2 separate regions of the Homo sapiens genome follow, and region 1 is linked to region 2. The links are contacts of gene promoters, found by promoter capture Hi-C in blood cells and fetal thymus (Javierre and others, 2016). All regions are on one chromosome and are shown on one strand. Each heading gives the region's core, a stretch centred on a gene start or on the middle of the fragment in contact. The rest is flanking DNA. Distances are from core to core; before and after follow the strand shown.

The links. Contacts are between HindIII fragments. The CHiCAGO score rates a contact against its expected background, and 5 or more counts as called.
Region 1: a fragment that was not itself captured here is called in contact with the fragment with the promoter of SMAD1-AS2 in region 2 in 1 of 17 cell types (endothelial precursors); the score reaches 7.5 in endothelial precursors.

Annotation. Positions count from the first base shown.
Region 1 is chr4:145,281,152-145,287,912 of GRCh38, forward strand. No RefSeq gene overlaps it. Among named protein-coding and RNA genes, the nearest start is that of LINC02266, 56 kb to the right of the region's middle. The HindIII fragment of the contact is 331 bases long and covers 3,724-4,054 here.
Region 2 is chr4:145,499,531-145,505,804 of GRCh38, forward strand. SMAD1-AS2 (SMAD1 antisense RNA 2) reads right to left here and starts at 3,450. Exons shown (of 2, transcript NR_108077.1): 1 at 3,346-3,450. All of the region lies in intron 1 of SMAD1 (SMAD family member 1), which reads left to right. The HindIII fragment of the contact is 25,873 bases long and covers 1-6,274 here.

The sequences.
Region 1 (6,761 bases), core at 2,639-5,138, 220 kb before region 2:
AAGTGAGTGACGCTGCCATGGAGATTTGTGGAGAGTAAACTCTCCAGGCAGAGAAGCAGCAGTACAAAGGCCCTAACACCGGGACATGCCTCGTGAGTTTGGGGAACTGCACAGCCATCATTAGGGCTGACACGCAGTGAGACTCACACTGAGTCTATGAATCGGCCCAAGCATATTCTGGGGCAGGGGTAGTTAGATATTAGGCACGGGTGAGCACTGAGCAGCCACTGGCAGGCAACACTGGTGGAGGTGACATCACCTCCACGCTTCTGAGAAGGAAACACGGCTAAACTCCCATCACCTGATGCTTCTGTAGCTGGAGCTCAGGCCACAGCATTAAAACTCTATGCCCTGGGAAAACTCATGCAACTGCATTTCTGGACTCAAAGGGAAGAATTTTGATCCATGGATCATTCGGCCATATAATTACTCACCTTCACCCGAGGAGAAGCAATGTTTGCTCCATATATCACTGGGAAATAAAATAGCAAGATAAAACATAAAGAATTTATTTGACTAGAATTATCATGCAGAATTGGAAAAATATTCCATTTCAAAGTCCAAAATGGTGAAGTTATTCATCACTTTAGAGGACAAACACATCTATCCAGAGACCAGCTGTTTCCTGGTGTCATTTAAATTTGAAAACCCCACATGTTCTGCTAGAGGAAGGAATCTAGCTTCCTTTCTGTTCTTGAAAACTTTTAAAATTTAATTTGGGATTCAATTAATTTATTATACATTATTAAGAACCTAAATGTTCTCACAGACCAATTTTCAAGAGTATAGTAACACTGTACAGTATATCATTGCTTGGTTGGAGTTACCTGAAGCAAATGAACTGAGTAATACAGTGTACATCAGATAGAAGAGATGTGAAGTACACAGAGAACTTTTATTGTTCCAGAGTAATAACCCATGCAACTTATGCAAGAAAAAGCTGGTGTGTTTTGGAATATTCCAGCTTCAGGATTAAATTCATTCCATGTACTCTGGCAGGGAGGAGGGAGATTCTTAACAGCTGGGACCAGAATCTGTGCTAGTGAAATACTCCATAAACTATGAGCCATGGAAGATGCCTCCTGAGGACATGGGATAGCTGGGGACAAAGAACAGTCACAGCTAATCGTCTCTACAATAAATATATGGAGATGGGAAAAACTGAGAGGAGGGAGAGTGACTGGTGAAGAAATATGATGATATACCTTAAAATCTTTTCAGATGTAGATTATGCAATGTTCAGTTTTAGGATCTTTTCATTTCTGTGATGCAAACCCACCTTCACCATCCCAAATCTTTGGTGGATTCTGCTATTTACACAAATGCCTTGTGTGGATGCTGTTCATGTGTGAGCTTGTGTCCTGCGGGAATTGAGAGACTGAGTTCCATGTCTGGGTGAATGTGGTACAAAATAGGGACAGCACATGCCACATGGCAAGATAATCTGTCAATTAAACTCATCAGTGGAAGCAGCACTCGGAGCCAGAAATAACGAGAGTGAAAGTAGCCTGGGAATTCCCAGATATTCTGGGGACGCACATTGGATTTTCACTGAAGGAAATATGAAATGGGAGTTTGAGCCACCTTAAGAGGCAAGGATACTCTTCTGACATCTGGGTTATCTGTTAGTGAATATTTGGAATTGAATGGATTATCTTGTATTTACCAGGTTGCTTTCGAAGCATATGATTGTAGTTAAGATAGAAAATGTAGACACTAAGATTTCTTACTTCTTGGCTGGGTGTGGTGGCTTACAACTGTAATCCCAGCACTTTGGGAGGCCGAGGCAGGCGGATCACAAGGTCAGGAGTTCAAGACTAGCCTGAGCAACATGGTGAAACCTCGTCTCTACTAAAAAATACAAAAATTAGCCAGGCGTGGTGGCGTGTGCCTGTAGTCCCAGCTACTCAGGAGGCTGAGGCAGGAGAATCACTTGAACCCAGGAGGCAGAGGTTGTGGTGAGCTGAGATCGTGTCACTGCACTCAAGCCTGGGCAACAGTGCAAGAGTCCGTCTCAAAAAAAAAAAAAAGTTTTCTTACCTTTTGGTAACAACTAGGGCCTTGGGCTGAATATCCAGAAGTTACCCAGTTATCTCTGGTCTAGACATTGGTAAAGACTTCACTGGATTGTGAATTTCCCAATATTTCTTCATTTCTACAGTCCTGAAGAGGTTTTTCACAGGACTGGGTCAGAGGTTCTGAGTCAATACACAAATATACCTAATGCTAAATGACGAGTTAATGGGTGCAGCACACCAGCATGGCACATGTATACATATGTAACTAACCTGCACATTGTGCACATGTACCCTAAAACTTAAAGTATAATAATAATAAAATTTAAAAAAATAAAAATAAAAAATAAAAATTCTGAATAGTCCTATTACAGCTAAATACATTTAACCAATAATAATAATAATAAAAGCTTTCCCACTAAGAACAATTCAGAAAAAAAAAAAGTTACTGTGTATTGATACTGTAGAAACCAAAATAAAATACTTGTAGGAAAACATCAAGAAATATTAGGCTAGAGGGTTTGTTGAATGTGGTTTCTTGAGTCTCCCTGGTTTTTCATGGGAGACAGACTTGGGTTGGTGGCAATGGCAATCTGTATGGCCATGGTTAGTTCTCTCAGATCAACAGAAGCCCCAATTAGAGGCTTATAAAACTTCTCATCAACCTCACTACCCTAAAGCTCTATCATAATTTTTATAAAGTTGGAAGAAAAAAAAGCCTTTACTAAGTTTTATCACTTGGATAAAGATCATATTCCAAGTACAATTCTTGGTATGTCATATCACCATTTTGCTTCATTGATCACAGATTACCCAATGATTATTAGACATCACATGCATAGATGCATAGCAATTATTTCTGGAGGCAAGCCTGTGACATATGCAATTAGGAGTGGCAAGGCCCGGCAGGACCAGCCAGGGCCTCCCACAGAGCCGTATTTAACAATTGGTTGACTAGGATATAAAGGATCTGTGATATCATGCTAGCATGTTAGAAGTTGTTTTCCTAAGGGTCATAGTTGGCTATATATAGAATAATGCCATCAGCCAGAAAGGACTTCCTGATTGCATATATAGGATTTGCTTATGTTTACAGCAGGAGTAACTTCCTATTTTCATTCCCATTCTCAGGGAAAGTAATTTGATCTAGATAGAGTATAATCCCAGGACTACTTCGTTTGCAAGAAGATAAACTCAACTTAATCCAGTTTCAGTAAAATTTGAGCTTAATTGAAAGAATACTGGAATAGCTCAGAGAATTGAAGGATGGTTCTCAGGAACTACAGGAATGCTGAAGACCTTCATGAGTGGAACCAGGCACTCAAACTCTAAACAGCACACTCTTCTGAATCTTGTTTCTGTTTCCCTATGCTTGTTGGTTGTATTCTATTTTGCTACGAGGAGTTTCCTTTTTTTTTTTTTTTGAGACTGGGTTTTGTTATGTTGCCCATGCTGGAGTGCAGTGGCACAATCATGGCTCAGTGCAGCCTTGATCTCCCGGGCTCAAGCAATCCTCCCACCTCAGCCTCCTGAGTAGCTGGGACTACAGGTGCACACCACCAGACTTGGCTAATTTTTAAAAAATTTTTAGTGGAGATGAGGTTCTGCTGTGTTGCCCAGGCTGGTCTCAAACTCCAGAAGCTTTTTCTTTATGCTAGAAAACAAGATTTTCCCAGTCCTGGGCTTTCTTCATCCCTAGAGGAAAACAAGCTTCCTTTATCCAATGTTTAGGTTAAAAAAAAATCCTGGAGCAGGCCTCTGATTGGCCAGATTTAAATCATGTTTCCAACCCTTGGACGAATTGCTATGGATAAGAATATGAAGTACCATGATTGGCTGGTCATGTGTCCATTTCTAAGAGTAAAGGCAGTGGGGGAGATTCTATTACCGCAAGAAGAGTATAAGATCACTGTGCACCAGGGAGCCATACAAGTTGGTATGGCACATCTATTGGCATTTTCCCACTGTCTCCCTTACCCTTATGGAGATCACTGAGAAGAGGTAGACTACCCATGAATTCAACCTGGCCCAAAGAAGAAAGCTTCTTCATCATCTCTATGTGACTAACATCGGTCCTTGGGGCAGATGGTTCCTTTGGCAAGATACTATGGTGGGCTTTATTTCTGAAGTGCAGGTAGGCCTCTTGAAATTGTTTTGTTTGCAAGTAGGAAAAAGAGACCAAAACTTCTTGGCATTATCTTGTAAAGTGCTAGTTCCATTGTGGGCAGGGGAATTTAGGCAGATAACCTCACATTTAAAAACAGTTTATCTTCTCTCATATAGATCAGAGTATACTATGTTTGGAAAGTATTGTTTCTACTGGAAAAGGCATATGGGATGTAATTAGTCCAACAGTTACAGTGAAAACTGCAAGAATAATGAGGATGCATAGCTTTAAGTTGGACTGTCACGGAGATTTCAAAAGAGAGATTGGACTTGTGGTGCAAAGCCCACCGTGGCTGTCCTGAGTCTGCTCATTAAAAGCAAAACAAAACTAAAGAAGGGAGCCTCCTACTGTGGGTGGGATATATACAGTAGGAATAAGGATTTACATTTGGAGAACTGAAGAACTAAGCATTTTTAAAAGGGGCAAGAGAAGGCTGGGCTTTTAAGCAAGGGAGCAAGGTTAAGAACTGGAATATTTCCACAGGAAGGCACAGGTAAAGGACTTCCAGTTTTTTCCCCACTTGGGCTGTGAGATTTGTCATATTTGTCATGCAATTTTAAATTTTTCTCCTTGTCTTATAAATCCCTCTATTTTTCACCAACCCTTTAATTAAGTCTATTAGACATGCACAAGTTCTATGTTGGTGGTATTGTGGGGAATTAAAGAGAAGAGCAACAAAAAGAAGCATGATCCTGTATCCTTCCATGGAGATCATCATCATAGCATGAGAAAGGAATCCCAGATCATCCAGGTGGCACCAGGACAGAGGATCAGGGCAGAGCTGAAGGCAATGGAGAGGAACAAGTGACTCATAGAAACAGCTGCAAAGAGGGTGATTCAGGAACAAACTGAGGGACAAACATCCTCTTTCTCAAATATTCTAGAGGAAGGTGACTTTCAGAGGTTGAGAAATGGGAATGGTTGGGGGGGAAGATAAACATTGATTATATTCTCTGCAATTAGACCCTTTCATTCCTCCTCTTATTTCCCTCTCTCTTCCTCAAAATTTATTACATTAATTTCTCCCTCCAAGGTGGATCAAATATGCTTTGCTTATACAAATATTCAGAGTTCATTTTATTCAATCATGAATTTTTATTCATTTTATGTCTGTCATCCCCATTAGACTGAAAAGACAATGGCTATGACCTGCATACAGGGAAGATAGTGCTTTGCATACTGTTGTTGCTTAATAAATGGTTTTAAATTGATTTGAAAATGGTTTACTTAGTTGACTTCCTTCTTTGCAAGAGCCAACTAAGTCCCATTGGCACTTCATTTTCTCCTTTAATTTGCCATATTATCTAGAATATTTTAAAAACTTTCACCATTTTGAAATGATGCTAAATTGAACTAATTTTTCACTAAGCTTCTCAAGGAAGCAAAATCACAAATACTTCAGGTGTCATAAAATCAAAAGCACACATTGTCTTCCCAAAGGGAAGAACCACAATGAGGTATCTGCTCTTAAGAAAAGTTCTTGATACTTTTAGGATGATCTCAACTTCCACTTAGGAAGTTGGACTGTTTTAGGAAGAGAGTAATTGTTGACTGAGAGGGAGTCAGATTTTCTAGTGATCCAACTGAAAGAGCCAGCTATTGGCAAATTGGTACTTTAAAATTTTTCTGCTTGACAAACAATCCCTAACTCCAACCTTCTTTAATCACTACATATGCTTGTGAATGTAACAGGCATTACATAAAGGGAGAATCTCAAAAACAAACCCTAGCTTTTTTCATTGTACCAGTCTTCTCTGAGCAATTCCATTTTTTTGTTTTAAAATGAATAACTGAAGATAACTTTGAATCCTGGAACATGGCTGTGATATGGAAAATGAAAATAACAGAGTACAAAATAACATGTATACTGTGATTGCAGCTATTTAAAGTATTTATGCCCATGAAAGATAATACTGCAAAAATAGCATAGTCGTGTTGGAGAAGAGCAGAAAGAAGAAAGAAGCTGTATTATTTTGGTGAAACGTGATCCTTCTGTAAAAGAGACACCTGAAAATACAGTGGCTTAAAGGGCAAAAGTGTTTGCTTTCCTCTGTATCAGTCCAGGGCAGGGAGGAAGGCAACTCTGCTCCATGTGGCCACCCAGGGACCCAGGCTCCTTCTGTCTTGTTCCCATGTCATTCCCTAGAGCATTGTCCTTATCTGCTGGGTTGCAGTCATGCCTATGTTCAGCTCAAAGAAAGTGGACACAGTGTGGGGGAGTTGTGCAATATCCTAGGGTCCATGCTGGGAAGCAACACTCCTATTTCTGCACCTGTTCCTTTGATGAATATTGTCTCATGGCTACACCTAACTAACTGCAAAGAAGGCTGGGAAACGCAGTTTAGTTGGGCTCTCTTGTTTCCAGAGCAAAGTAGAAAATGGATTTTGGCTGATAGTCTCTGTTGTTATAGTTACCAATCATTGAGAACTATGCTTAGTTATTTACAAATACTGCCTCATTTAATACACACAACTGCATGTCCAAGATCTCCTTGCTTATAGTAGTTACCAAACATAACTAACGTTCTTGCATTACACCTATGTCTTTCAGCATAATGGCATTCTGAATATTTATTATC
Region 2 (6,274 bases), core at 2,200-4,699:
GGATCACTTGAACCTGGGAGGTCTAGGCTGCAGTGAGCCATGCCACTGCACTCCAGCGTGGGCAACAGAGCAAGACCATGTCTCAAGAAAAAAAGAAAAATTTCAGCCTATGTGCATAAGGTGTAGATGAAACATACATTAATTTTATGTTTAGACTTGGGTCCCATCCCCAAGATATCTCATTTTATATATTCAGAATATTCCAACATCCAAAAATACCTGGAATCTGAAACACCATCTGGTCCCAAGCATTTCAGATAAGGGATACTCAACCTGTATTCCTGTACAGGAATTATGGACATTTAGTCCATAATTCTTGGACTACTTCTCCTCCAGTGGCCTTGTCTTTGGTCCTACCTCAGATATTCAATCTCTGGGTAGAAAGATTCCATAAAAAAAGAAGAAAAAAATCTCGCTCAGTCTTACAGTTCCCATAATACGGGTTTTCATACTTCTAAAAATTAAACAATTCTCCAACCTTACAGTTAATTATTTTCTTTATATAAGCAGTAAAGTATTATTTGTTCATGTCTGTACTTTGAGAATATATCCAGAATCTGACGACTTCTGCCACGCTGGTTGAAATCTTTATCATCTTGTACCTTAACAATTGCCATAGCTTCCTAACTGGTCTCCCTACCCACCACTCCCTACTTCGATCCCTGCGTCCTTCAGTATGTTCTCAACCCAGCAAGCCACAGTAATTCTATTAAACTCTAAGTTGGATGATGGCTCTCCTCTGCTCAGATCTCCCAGTGTTTCCATCTCAATTTGGGTCAAAAGCTCTGAAGTCTCTGTGGGTCCCGCACATACCTTCCCCTGTGACCTCTCTGGCCTCATCTCTCATTTCTCTCCCCTCACTCCATTCCAGCCTCAGTGAGGACTCCTTGCCATTCCTTGAACATCTCAGGATCATTCTTGCCAAATGGCTCAAATGGCTTTTGCAATTGCCCTTCTCTCTGCTTGGAATGCCCTTCCCCAGATAATTCCTTTCAGGGGGCTGTTCAGATACCACATTCACGACGAGGCTTTCCCTGACCACCAGAATGTAGGCCCCACCAAGGCACAGAAACAGACTTTGAAAAACTTTTTGTGTCTCTTTCAGTGCTGCGTTTCTAGTGCTTAGAATAGTGCCTGGCATGTGATAGCTGTTTGTTGAGTGAATTGAATAACTGTAGTGGTTACTAGTTTTTCTCTTTTTGTATGAAGTTAGAACTTCATTAAACAGACAAAAACTAGACTGTAAACCTCATTTTTTTGGATATGCAAAATATTAAAATTAGCCTTATTTGTGAACCTGCTTTGTTAATCACTTTGTTTTTCAGCATGTTATAATTTTGAAGTAAGCCTTTCATGTTTATATTTAATCTGCCTAACCCAGTGGATTGGGTGATGGTATCACAATTTTGTGGAAAAGCAAATTGAGGCTCAGAGTTGTTTTCTTCAAAGTACAGCTACTAAGTGGACAGCTGCAGTTCAAACCTATTCAAGTTAAGGACACTTGTTTTCTAATTTAGAAACCATCTTAAAATGACAAAAAAGTAGGTAGAGGTTTTATTTGAAAGCATGGAGAATGTGCCCCAATTTCTCATTCTGGGTTTTGTCTGCCTTTTGTTTCCATTTTCAAAATATGTAAAATAAATGGTTAACTTTAAAATTCCTGACAATGACAGATCAACAAGTTTTATTTCTCTCACCTGTGGAGGAAGTGGCCTCCACCCAGTTTTACTGAATTAGGAGGGAAGTGATTTTTTCAAGTGATAAAAAGAAATAAAATTCCATGCTCTTCCCAGAGGAGGAGTTCAACAATTGGGAAAGTGGCGTGAGACCATATGTTGGTTTGTAAAAGGATATAACTTGTAAAGATGTTTCCTTTGATGCCTGTGATGAATATGGATGTGTTTCCCTTCTAGAGGGTCCTGATTAAATTATGCAATTAAGAGCTGAGCTGAAGGATCTAAATATAGGAAGAGAGTTCAGGCCGTCCTGCTTTGTGTCTGTCAGTTCACCCCTACAGATGTGCATGTTTGTTGTCATAAACAGCACCTGTGAGATCAGTGGAGCGAGAGAAATATGTTCCAAAACATGAAATACAGCAGGATTTTTGTTTCTTTTTTTTTTTTTAAAGGGATAGTTTTTTCCTCCTGTAGTTGATTCCATTTTCATCTGTGAATTTGATATTTGGATTACCTTTTTTTTTTTTAAACTTGACTGAGGGACTTCAGTATTAGTCAGTACTGGTTTAAAATATAGATATACTACTTACCAGAATATGGTCTGGAGAAAGTTACTTTAACCTCTGAGCCTCAAGTTTATTACTAAAATTGAGATAATGATTTCTACCTTGAAGCATTGGTGTGAGGAGTCAATGTAATAATGTTTGTAAAAACAACCAGTATAATGCTTGTATAAGTTGGTAACTCAAACAATTTCGTTTATTAGCTACTGACGAATCATTCATAACTAGCCACTTACGGAAATCTACCACATTTAGCATTCTTTGTAGTCTAAAATTGCTATTTTAGGATAACTGACTCAAAGAGAATAGTTTTTTCTGAGACAACTACCATAGACTTTCTCCTGGGATAGTCAATAAAATTAAATCTTAAAATGTCTGTGGTCTTCAATCTTTCCTGTGTTTGAGGAGTGAGCATTTGTAGGCCAGGAGTCTTTACAGTGTTTGAGTTGACATGAATGTGAATGGCCTTTATCAGGATGAGCTTATGGGGAGCTGGACATCTTGAAAGGCTACCGTGTCCTGAAGGACAGTATGCCATTACAAGCATGAATTTGGGAATGGGGGTTCAATGGGATTAAGGAATGTTGTACAACTTTTAGAGGAAATGGCAAGAAGATATAGAAAAGCCAACTTTGTTTGTTGAAGTTGGGGACAATAAGAAAACTTTCAATTGCCTTAACTATTCAAGTAATCATCTAATCAGACAAAACAGATGTGACAGCTGCTATTTTATAGGGAATCTCTGTGATTAAGAAAAATTAACCAGGTACTCTATTAGCAGCCTAGATTTGTCAGGATGGAAGGATTTGTGTATGCAGAACAGAACCAGAAAGAACTCTTTTTAAAGAATTTTCTGATATAATGAAGATACGTTAATAGCACACTTGGCACACCTAAAATAAATAAACTACAGTTATATCCTTAGAGACTCTTGTCATTCTGACATCCATAAGTTCCTTGCTTCCTTTTCATCAAGGAGATGCTACTTTTGAAATTGTTTGGCTGAAATTTCACAGCTTCAGTGAACTTACAAGTGGTAAGTAGTAAGCTGGAATTCAGTCTACATGGTATTCCTTTTCTTTTTGATTCCTAAGATTTCTACTCACTTAACACTGTTGAGGGACCAAATTGCATCTCTTGCTGGCATGTCACTTAAGTTATACTGGAGAGACTGGAAGACTTGCTGTCAGTGTCTGCGCTTTAAACGCACAGTGTCTGCGCTTTAAAGGCAATAGTACCTGCATTATTGCATCACTATAAATAGAATTTCACGAACTGAACCTCTCTCCTATCTCCAACCCCCAATTTCTCCAGATTTAGAAAATCAGTCTCCGGCAAAAATAAATTTTCAGTGGGAAAAATGTCAAACTAGCTATTCTGCATCATCAGTCCCATGTTTGGAAGTAGCCAGATCAAGGCTGAATAGTAAGAGGCTCAGTAAGATGGAACTTTACTTGTGGTGTTTGTGATGGTAGGACTCTCCTGCTGCTGTGAACTGAGAGCAGCAGAGTTCTGTGTTCTCTGTGGGTCTCCGTATGGCTTTCTTGTGTAGGAATTTGGTTTAAATACATTTTTCCCCTAAGGACTAAAGCGAAATAGAGTTCATTATAGCCTTTTTAGCAATGAAGTTAAGCGCTGTACTTTATGAAGTACGTTAGCATCAGTAAAGAGCAAGGTTTTATCCATTTTCATTTTTCTTTCTGTTCTAGAGGTTTTTTCCTCCCTTATTTTGCTTAGTGGTGAGTTTTATTTAGCTAAATTTGACTCATTTGAGATTGAGACAAATGTTGAAAGTTGAGGGCTAACTGCTGTTTTAAAACAGGAAAAAGGAATGCAGGCACTTCACCTGTTTCCTCCTCCAATACAAATACAGCAGGTCCTCAGACAACCTCATTTCATTCAATGCCATTTCCTTATAACGTTGATGAGAAAAAACATTCCCAGCCTAGGCCACTGTCTGTGTGGAGTTTGCACATTCTCCCCATGTCTGCTTGGGTTTTCTCTGGCTACTCTAGTTTCCTCCCATATCCCAAAGGTGTGCACGTTAGGTGAATTAGTATGTCTACATTGTCCCCATTGCAGTGCATGTAGGTGTGTGTGTGAGTGCGCCCTGCCATGAAATGGTGTCCTGTCCAGGGGTGGTTCCCACCTTGTGCCCTAAGCTGCTGGGATCGGCTCGGGCCACTGCGACCCTGAATTGGAATAATTGGGTAAATAATTATCTTGTTTCTGTTCATCTTTCTTAAATGTATATATGGCTCACATTTATTTCAGTGTTAATTTTAGAAGTGTTTTGGGTCTCAGAAGTTTGGTAATGTTTTTGTGACCAGAAATGTCCTGAAGGAACTTAACTCTTGTTTATATAAATTAGCTGATGCTAAAATTAATTTTGTTTTACATCGTTTCACTTAGAGCCACAGTTTCCAAGAACCCGTAAGGACTTTACTGTATCTGAAAACCTGGTTAGCTCCTAACTGGAGTAACTGGGTTAAAGAAGCATTTGAACATTATTTGTTGAACCAGATCAAAGAACATTGCTACTTTAGGGTATTTTCTGGAACTGAAATAACTAGATCCATTTCTGTTTTTATATTCATTGTAATGGCATTGGACTTGTATAGCAAATTTTAACTTGTCTTTTGCCTGTCTGCCTTAACCTTAAGGGTAGATATTTATCATTTTCCTTAAGGAGCTGTACAATAATCTTTCATGCTTTTTGTTAGGAACCATTTACAATTCCTACTGTCTGCTACTTATCGTTGTGTTCTACTTGTTCTAGAGTTCTGTCTCCACCTGTCTTCATTTTTAGGGGTACTGTTTTTTAGGGGTACTATTTCTCTGTTTGGAAATGTGAGCGGATGGCAGTTTCTGCCTCAGCCCTCTTGCTGGGCCATTGTCTCATGTGGGTTGTCTGCTGTTCCACATTTAAGTAATAGTTATTTCAGCTTTATCAAAAGTTTGTAAGTTCCCAGTTCTTCTGGACTTCTGATTAATTCAGCCTGATTTTATTTAGGGCAAATGATTATGATCCCCTTTCCATTTTGTGAATTTTTCATATTTTACCAATAAATCTCATTGCAATTCTTTGCTTACAAGATGGCTTGAAAGATGCAAGCAATGATGGATTGCTCTTTATTGTTTTAAAATATTTATTGGCCTTAAATTGCTGAAATAATATGGTTTTTCCAACCTTTGTGTTTTTATGCATTTTTAACCCTACGTCTTTAGTGTATAATCTTCTGTGAGTCTGTGGTTTCTATAAGTGTCAGGAATTTTTCAGGTGTCTTTATTATCCTTTGAAATCATGATCTATTTGGACAATTCCATCTTTGTTTGGACTATACAGTTGACTTGAGTACCTAAGTGAAATGGAGCAGGTTAGAAAAAAGTAGTTTGTTTTATAGTAATGAGAATTACATTACAAGTCCCCTGGCATGTTCCCCTTTGACCTTTTTTGATGTTTTAATTTAAGCATCTCAAACAAGGCAAGAGTTGATCTCACCAGGCCTTGAATCCTATCCAAAATTGGATGTTAGGATAGATGACACATACATTTCTGTAATACTAATTAATATTGCCAGTTAATATTGATCACTTTCTACAACATGTCTCTGAGATATCTTGCATCTCCATGGCATCTAATGAGGTGTATTGTGAAATAGTTTCATATATTAAAAATACTGGAAAATAATATAAAAAATTAGCTGGGCGTGGTGGTGGGCACCTGTAGTCCTAGCTGCTCCGGAGGCTGAGGCAGGAGAATGGTGTGAACCCAGGAGGTGGAGGCTGCAGTGAGCCGAGATCGCGCCACTGCACTGCAGCCTGGGCGACAGAGCAAGACTCTGTCAAAAAAAAAAAAAAAAATGCTGAACTACAAAATTCATGCAGTTTGCTTATAATCACTCTGAAGCCCACCATAGGTCTACTCTGGAAGCTCAAGTCTTACTTTTTCTGTGTATTCACAAGACCAGTCTATCTGTTTAAGAATATATCTGGCGATGTAAGTCTGGAAATACGCACTTAGGTGGTTTTGTT